Regions from separate parts of the Homo sapiens genome. Here region 1 is linked to region 2. Evidence: promoter capture Hi-C in 16 types of primary human blood cells and fetal thymus (Javierre and others, 2016). All regions are on one chromosome and are shown on one strand. Each heading gives the region's core, a stretch centred on a gene start or on the middle of the fragment in contact. The rest is flanking DNA. Distances are from core to core; before and after follow the strand shown. Region 1 holds the start of NECAP2 (NECAP endocytosis associated 2). Region 2 holds the start of AGMAT (agmatinase (putative)).

What was found. Contacts are between HindIII fragments. The CHiCAGO score rates a contact against its expected background, and 5 or more counts as called.
Region 1: a contact is called between the fragment with the promoter of NECAP2 here and the fragment with the promoter of AGMAT in region 2, in 3 of 17 cell types (fetal thymus, non-activated CD4 T cells and activated CD4 T cells). The highest score is 6.7, in fetal thymus.

What each region holds. Positions count from the first base shown.
Region 1 is chr1:16,439,327-16,443,828 of GRCh38, reverse strand. It overlaps NECAP2 (NECAP endocytosis associated 2), which reads right to left and starts at 3,105. Exons shown (of 8, transcript NM_018090.5): 1 at 2,976-3,105; 2 at 97-197. The coding sequence starts at 3,067. The HindIII fragment of the contact is 8,327 bases long and covers 1-4,502 here.
Region 2 is chr1:15,583,119-15,587,578 of GRCh38, reverse strand. It overlaps AGMAT (agmatinase (putative)), which reads left to right and starts at 2,528. Exons shown (of 7, transcript NM_024758.5): 1 at 2,528-2,883; 2 at 4,184-4,386. The coding sequence starts at 2,612. RefSeq lists a silencer at 2,546-2,875 and an enhancer at 2,986-3,035. The HindIII fragment of the contact is 7,120 bases long and covers 1-4,460 here.

The DNA of each region.
Region 1 (4,502 bases), core at 1,856-4,355, 860 kb before region 2:
CCATGACCCCTGAGCAGCCTGGCCAGACCAGGCCACCTCTCCCTTCATAAAGTGGGGTGCGGCCCCTCAGCTTGATGCAGCCTCCCTTCCGGTTACCTGACGTCCTGTCCTCCAGCTTGATGTAGGCCATCTGTCCCTTTGCAGTGATCCTCAGCCGGCCACTCCATGATGGCTGGTCCAGCTGCCACTCCGCAGCCCTAAGGGGACAAACACCACTGAATCTCTGCCAGAGGCTCCTGCTGTGTGACCCCAATGCTGGGAATGGAAAGGGCTGCTTATTCTAGCCCAAGAGTTGGCAAACATTTTCTGTAAAGAGTCAGACAGTAAATATCTTTGGCTCTACAGGCCACACAGCCTGTCACAACAAGGCAGCTCGGCTGCTGTAGGGTAAAATCAGTATAGAACATGCACGTGGTGATGCTTTAGGTATCTTAACTATTTTCTACTGAGCACAGCTGTATTTCAATCAAAGTGTAGACACTGAAATCTGAAATTCATGTAATGTTCCCAGTATGAAATACTCTCCTTTAAAAATTTTCCAAACCATTTAAAAAATGTAAAAACTATTCTTAGGTGTGAACCATACAAAAACACACTGGGTTGTCACTTGGTGACCCCCTCTCTAGACCACAGTGTCCTCCTCCACGTAGGACTTCCTTCCAGTTTCCTTTCTATAGAAGCAGCAGCTGCAGGGGCCTGATTCTGTTTCTGACACTGCTTGACTGCAGCAGTCAGAGCGACCATTTGAGACCAGTGAGACTATCTTGAAAGAAAAAGACAGCATGGAACAATCACCAGAAGAGAAAAGGAGAACAACAGTACATGTGAGAAAAGTGAATGGGTCCTTAGGAAGAAACCCAGGAAACCATGAACCTACAGCAATGCCTCTTTTGGCTCTAATTTGTTTGAGACGGGGTCTCACTCTGTCACCCGGGCTGAAGTGCAGTGGCGCAACTACGGCTCACTGAAGCCTCAACCTCCTGAGCTCAAGAGATCCTCCCACCTCAGCCTCCTGAGTAGCTGGGACTACAGGTGTGTACCAACACACCAGGCCAATTAAAAAAAATTATAGAGATAGGGTCTATGTTGCCCAGGCTGGTCCTGAAGTCTTGGGCTCAAGGGATCCTTCCACCGAGGCTTCCCAAAGTGTTGGGATTACAGGCGTGAGCCACCACAGCCAGCTGTTTTGACTCTTTTAAAGCATTAACTTCACATTTTAGTTCTAAGAAAAGGTCAGTTAAATCCCCAAATAGCAAGAACCGCAGGTGTTTCCAGGAGGCTTTTCTTAGAAGTCCCTATGCCAGTTCTCAAGAACCCTGGACGCGGCTGTCTTGAGGGCTGCACAAATGCAGATTCTCAATTCACAAATCAGCAGACTCAGTTCCTGTTCCTCTTACCAGGCCTGAGATTCAGGCTAAGGAGAGCTCCAAGACTTAAGTGCAGGCACTGGTAGTTTCCTCTAAGCTAAACCAGCCAGCCCTGACAATTCATAACCTCGCTCTCTGGGGCACCAAGAGGAACCAAATCCATCCTACTAAAGACCCAATAGGGGGCCGGGCGCGGTGGATCCTGCCTGTAATCCCAGCACTTTGGGAGGCCGAGGCGAGTGGACCACCTGAGGTAGGGAGTTCGAGACCAGCCTGACCAACATGGAGAAATCTCATCTCTACTAAAAACACAAAATTAGTCGGGTGTGGTGGTGTATGGCTGTAATCCCAGCTACTCGGGAGGCTGAGGCAGGAGAATCGCTTGAATCCGGGAGGCGGAGGTTGCAGTGAGCCGAGATCGCACCATTGCACTCTAGCCTGGACAACAAGAGGGAAACTCTGTCTCAAAAAAAAAAAAAAAAGACCCAACAGGAGATGGGGCTAGACGACCATCAATGGTTTGATGGTCCAACCACAGTTTGATGACAGAAAACAAATGTATTTTGGTTATTGTTGTTTTTGTTTTTATACTATTTTAAAATATGTCATGAATGTAATGTTCACTAACGCATCTTTTCACCATAAGATCAGCTATGAGCCCACGGTAACACAACTGGAAAGTAACAAGAGGAAATGTGGACGTTCCATCATTCTTGGGGTGCAGACCAATCCTGTATTTCCGAAAAACTTGGACAACCATCGCCTTCAAGAGCCACCCAGGCCCCCGCAAATACGAGCACTCCCCACCACCACTCAGTGGCACAAAATAGCCATAGGCCAGGTTGTCTGTATGAAGTGTATCTTTTTTCTTTTAATATTTTTCGTCGTTTTGATAGATAACGCATACAAAGAGTAGTAAAACGCAAACAGCACAAAAGGGAAAGGAAGTTTCCTTCCAAGGGCGGTTCCCCTCCCCTAGGGCAGTTTCCTGTGTTCCTTTGCAGAGATACTCAGTATGTTTACAAGCGTGTGTGTTTATTCGTCTCAGGTAGAGACCAGAGAAATATAGAAGGGGTCCTCCCAACTGCTCCAGGCTGTGATCAAGGGTGAAATTCGTGCGAAGGGATCTGGGTAGGAAGGGGTCCCTGGGCTTCGACCGTCACCTTAAAGCTCCCCGGGACCGGTCCTTTCAGCCGGCTCTGGGCTCCCTCCCCTCCTCTCGGGGATTTCCGTCTGTGATAGGGCACCTCCCCGCTTAAGGCTTTTCGAGGATCCCTTCAAGGCCACCGGTTAGCGCTGAAAGAGAAGCGTCTGTGACATCACCACCCCCGACCAAGTTTAGGGTACCCGGCAGCCCACCGGGGTCCCTAAGCGCTAGATACGGCTTTAACGCCCTCCCCGCCGCCAGGAGTCCCGTGCGTCGAACTGAGACGGGCGAAACTCTGGATCCACCTCCCTGCTCGGGCCTGGAACTGGAAGAAGCAGCAGCATTAGCTCCCCCTCGCCCCAAAACTGGCCAGGGCTGTCCTCGGTTCCCGCAGTGGGTGTGTCCGGGTGGCGGAGAAAGGGTTAAATTGGAGCTAGCCTGGTCTGGCGGTGGGTAGTCACCTGTAGCCACGGTTGGTAGCCCGCGGAGGGATGCGGTAGACGTGGACGTCAGGCTTGACACAGAGCACCGACTCGTACCCGCTCTCCTCCATCGCGACGCCTGGAGCCCACCGAACTTCCGGCGACTTCCACCGTTCCTCTGTCCGACGGACGGAAGCGGTGCGACTCTCTGACCAGGTTTCGGCTAGAGCGGCAGCTCGCGGGCCTCAGCACCGCCTCGTTTGTGCGCCCTCTGCTGGAAACCCGGCTCAAGACACGTGGCGGGCGACCTCCGGAGGCTTCTCCCTCCCTCCAGAGGCTTCTCCTTCCCTCCAGACACCCTCCGACGCAAAGAAAGCGCCCTGCGCCCGCCATGGACAGACCCCTCTGTAACCCGTGGTCTGGGTGTGGATCATCCCCATCGCTTCAGTTTCTTAGGCCTGGGGCCCAGTTGACCGAGAGGCAAAGCTGTAGCCCACCCTGCAGTATCTCTGTCCTCCAGCCTTTGCCTCGGCGCCTCCTCTGCCTGAATATCCTTCCCTCTCCTGACTGTAAGGCTCAGCTGGCACCTGACCCACCAGACTAAATAGATGCCATTACCCTACCACCCTCCATGCTTCCCCTAGGGGAACCCACTTATATGCTCAGGGCCCCGTGTGGCCAAACCTCAACAACGAGTTGTATTCAAAGAAGTAAAGTTTAGTAACACAAGTAATTTAAGAAGAATTCCAGGCCGGGCTTGGTAGCTCACGCCTGTAATCCCAGCACTTTGGGAGGCTGAGGCGGGCGGATCACCTGAGGTCAGGAGTTCGAGACCAGCCTGGCCAACATGGTGAAACCCCGTCTCTACTAAAAATACAAAAATTAGCCGGGCTTGGTGGCGTGTGTCTGTAGTCCTAGCTAGTTGGGAGACTGAGGCACTAGAATCGCTTGAACCCGGAATGCGGAAGTTGCAGTGAGCTGAAATTGTGCCACTGCACCTCAGCCTGGGTGACAGAGCGGGACTCTGTCTCAAAAAAAAAAAAAAAGAAGAAGAAGAATTCCAGTCTTAACTTCGATTTCTCCCAGAATATTCTGGGAGATACAATGTCTACCCTAGCCAAATTCTCAAAATCCCTCCTTCCCTACCATTCTCTCATTGAGTTGAGTGCCTGCAATGTGCCAGCCCCTATGTGGGGGTGAAGCTGATCCCAAACTTCTGATTCACTGAATACCCCAAACTTTCCCCACCCCTTCTTTCCTTTTCTCTCTCACTCTCCTTCTCCTTTTTACTTTTTTTTTTTTTTTTCTTCAGACAAAGTCTCACTCTGCCGCCCAGGCTGGAGTGCAGTGGTGCAATCTCGGCTCACTGCAACCTCCACCTCCCGGGTTCAAGCGATTCTCCTGCCTCAGCCTCCCGAGTAGCTGGGATTACAGGCACCCACCACCAAGCCTGGCTAGTTTTTGTATTTTTTTGGTAGAGACGGGGGTTTCATCTGGTTGGCCAAGCTGATCTTGAACTCCTGACCTCAAGTGATCCGCCCACTTCGGCCTCCCAAGTGCTGGGAT
Region 2 (4,460 bases), core at 1,279-3,778:
AGCTGAGGGCTGGGGTGGAGCACTGCAGGCAGACAGAAAAGCATGAACAAAGGAAAGGAGGCAAGAAAGTGGGGGCTGAGGCAGCTGACCATGGGCTGGAGGAACAAGCCCGTGGAGCTGCAGAAGGGGAAACACAGGAAGAATTGGCTCCAGGAAGCATTACCGGGCAGGCATATGTATGGTGATACTAGTGAGAGTGAGATCAGCTGGAAAGCTGGGGTGGGAAGGCCTGGACCAGAGTAACAGCAGAGGAAATGAGCAGAAGGCTTGGGGGCAGGAAACCATCAGGACTTCTTAAATTTGGGGGCGTAGAGCAGGATCAGAGACAGGGAGGTGGAAAGTCGCTGGCTGAACTTGCAGCCCACCCCAGGTGCTGTCAAGCATCCAGGTCAGGGTTAGAAATTGGTCGCCTGGAGCTCAGGGCTGGGATTTGGGCTTGTGGTTGACCTGCCTATGGGTGAAAGTCATCACCTCCGTATTAAAAGGGATTGCCAGCCGAGAAGGAGCCACGAAGGTGGAAGGAGACCAGGGGAGTCCCAGTCAAGAGGCCGCCTGAGGAACGTTTCAAGGAGAGAGGGTGCTCAGCAGTAGTGGATGTTGGGGACACCTCATTGGAACGCCTGGCACATAGCGGACACTCAATATTTGTGAGCTGAATGAAAGAAAAACCCGGAGTAAGAACATGATACATTCAGGACAAGCAACATGAAAGAAATAGCAGTTGAATTTGGGAGTCAAGAGAATAACTGAGACCCTTTAAGTGGCATAAGGGAGAAAAAAAGGAAAAAATAACTGAGAGATTGTTGCATTTGTTCCAGAAAATGGCTGGGACCTGCCCCAAGGCCAACACTAAGCACTGATAATTGACCATTAGGAAACTCTGTCCCGACCTGCAGAGTGGAGGCTCCACTCCAGAGTGGAGGCTGGAGTGGTGTGGGGTTTAATGTGCAACCTTTTTTTTTTTTTTTGACAGAGTCTTGCTGTGTTGCCCAGGCTGGAGTGCAGTGGCGCGATCTTGGCTCACTGCAAACTCCACCCTCCCGGGTTCACGTCATTCTCCCGCCTCAGGCTCCCGAGTAGCTGGTACTACAGGTGCCCACCACCACGCCTGGCTAATTTTTTGTATTTTTAGTAGAGATGGGGTTTCACCATGTTAGCCAAGATGGTCTCATCTCCTGACCTCATGATCCGCCCACCTCGGCCTCCCAAAGTGCTGGGATTACAGGTGTGAGCCACCGCGCCTGGCCTAATGTGCAACCTTTGTGTAGAGGTTGCAACGTAAATGCAAATGTGAGCCTTTTCCATTCAATCTCAACATTTAGAGATCAGAAAAAATAATATATATAATACTGCTAAATGGCTCACATAATTCCATTACAAATCACTTCTTTCTTTCCACGTGTGTTTTTCTTTCCCCTTAGAAATAAAGAGGATGTAACAGGTTCTCTGGCACTGTGACCTTCCTTACAGCTTGCCTGTAAGTCCTTTATTTATTTATTTATTTATTTATTTATTTATTTATTTATTTTTGAGACGGAGTCTTGCTCTGTTGCCCAGGCTGGAGTGCAGTGGCCTGATCTCAGCTCACTGCAAGCTCCGCCTCCCGGGTTCATGCCATTCTCCTGCCTCAGCCTCCCAAGTAGCTGGGACTACAGGCACCTGCCACCATGCCCGGCTAAATTTTTGTACTTTTAGTAGAGATGGGGTTTCACCGTGTTAGCCAGGATGGTCTCGATCTCCTGACCTCGTGATCCGCCCGCCTCAGCCTCCCAAAGTGCTGGGATTACAGGCGTGAGCCACCGCCCCTGGCCTCTAGTCCTTTTTTAACAAGGTTATTTAAAAAGACTTTACTGGCCAGGCGCGATGGCTCACGCTTGTAGTCCCAACTACTCGGGAGGCTGAGGTGAGACGATTGCTTGAGCCCAGCAGTTTGAGGCTGCAGTGAGCTATGATTGTGCCACTGCACTCCAGCCTGAGCAACACAGCAAGACCCTGTCTCAAAATAACTAGCTAGCTAGCTAAGTAGCTAACTAACTTTACTGCTTCTTGAGATTCCTATCCCTGGACATTTAAAAATACATTATTTAAAAAAATGCATTTCCTATTTTTCTGGCTTAGAGAAAGATCATTTTCCTTCATATCTTTCTGGCTTTAAAAATATTACTCTGGGGTGGCTGCTGTGGCTCACACCTGTAATCCCAGCACTTTGGGAGGCCAAGGTGGGAGAATCACTTGAGTCCAGAAGTTGGAGACCAGTCTGGGCAACACAGTGAGACCGTCTCTATAAAAACAAACAATTACTCTGAATGGGAGAAGAGGCTGCTGAAGGCCACAGTGGGGAGCAGGGCGCAGACACCCCTGGCACAGTGCCGGCCAGTGGGCACCCCCAGCCTGACTCTATTTGCCAGAGGCTGAAGTCCAGAGGGGTTGAGGGGAGAGCACGGCAGGTCCTGGGGCCCCTCCCCCGCCTTGATCCTAGGGCGCCCCTGACCTTTGAGCCGGCTCGGGTTCCGGCTCTGGCGCGTGCACACTCGCCTCGCCGTTCGGGACCAGCCAGATCGCGGCGGCCTCGCGGGCGGTTTGGTCGGTGAGGTCTTGGCCGCGCGCGGCAATGCTGAGGCTGCTGGCGTCCGGGTGCGCCCGGGGCCCGGGGCCCGGCGTGGGCGCGCGTCCTGCCGCAGGGCTCTTTCATCCGGGGCGCCGCCAGAGCCGCCAGGCTTCCGACGCGCCCCGGAACCAGCCCCCCAGCCCCGAGTTCGTGGCCCGGCCGGTGGGCGTCTGCTCCATGATGCGCCTGCCGGTGCAGACCTCCCCCGAGGGGCTGGACGCTGCCTTCATCGGGGTGCCCCTGGATACTGGGACCTCCAACCGGCCTGGGGCGAGGTAAGGCCGGAAGGACGGGGGCCGGGTACACGTGGAGGGACTGCTTGCTGGCTGTCGGGCATGGAAAGCACCGAGACAGGCGCCCCTGCTGGCCCCGGGTCGAGTTGGAAGCTGGTGGCCGGCTCCAAAATGCCCCTTATGGTTTGAGATGGTTGATTTACCTGGACCCTCAATAAGCAAACCCCAGGGCTCAACATGGGCGTGGCCTCCCACATCTTAGTGTCATCATTGGTCAAGAAGGGATTTTGGCCGGCCCGGTGGCTCATGCCTGTAATCCCAGCACTTTGGGAGGCTGAGGCGGGCGGATCACGAGGTCAGGAGTTCGAGACCATCCTGACCAACATGGTGAAACTCTGTCTCTACAAAGGTACAAAAAAAAGAAAAAAAAAGCCGGGCATGGTGGCGCGGGCCTGTAATCCCAGCTACTCGGGAGGCTGAGGCAGGAGAATCGCTTGAACCCGGGAGACGGAGGTTGCAGTGAGCTGAGATTGCGCCACTGCGCTCCAGCCTGGGCAACAGAGTGAGACTCCGTCTCAAAAAAAGAAAAAAGAAGGGATTCTGGAGCCTGAACCTTCTCTGTGTCCCCATCCTGGGGCCTTGCTGGGATGGCTGCTGTGGATTCCTCCCCTCTCCTCTCCCCAGCTTACAGTGGCAGGTGACATTGCATTTGAGAGCAGAAACTGGCTGCCCCTTCCCCAAATCTGAAGATGTCACCTGACTCAAGAAATGCTCAAATGAAGGCAATTTTCCTAGGATCAAGTCGGAGGAAGCAAAATTCATCTTCCTAGTTATTGAACGTCAGCAATTTCTGATTCAGCTCAGCAACACTATATCTGACCGTACTGATCTGAATTATGAAAGCCAGCACTTATTAAATGTCTCCTAAGTGCAAGGTGCTTTGCATAGATTACCTCATTTAATTTTTACTACAGTGCAAGGTAAATATTTTACAAATTAGGAAACTGAGACTCAGGTAGATCATGAAATTCACTAATGCCATTTAGTACACTTATTTAGTCTCTTCGATACATAGCCTAGATCGGTGATTCTCAAGTGGGGCGGTTTTGCACTCCGGGGACATTTGGCAGTATCTGGAGGCGTTTTGGGTTGTTACACCTTGGAGGAAGGGTGCTACTGGCACCTAGTGAGTACAGGCCGGGATGCTGCTAAGCATTCCATTATGCAATGCCGCGACACGGAATCATCTGGCCCCAAATTGCTGAGGCTGAGAAGCCCTGGCCTAAGCAAAGCCTGAAATCTCTGCAGATGATGGCTGACAGGATGATTCTTCCTTCTGCAGATTCGGACCTCGCCGCATCCGGGAAGAATCAGTGATGCTTGGGACAGTCAATCCTAGCACGGGGGCCCTCCCCTTCCAGTCCCTCATGGTTGCAGACCTAGGCGATGTGAATGTCAATCTTTACAACCTTCAGGACAGCTGCCGGCGAATTCAAGAGGCCTATGAGAAAATTGTAGCAGCTGGCTGTATTCCTCTGACCTTGGGTAATGTCAGTCTGCAAGAGCCAGAGTAGTTCCCTGCACTCAGGGTTTACTTATCCTGTACTCAGGGGCTTGAG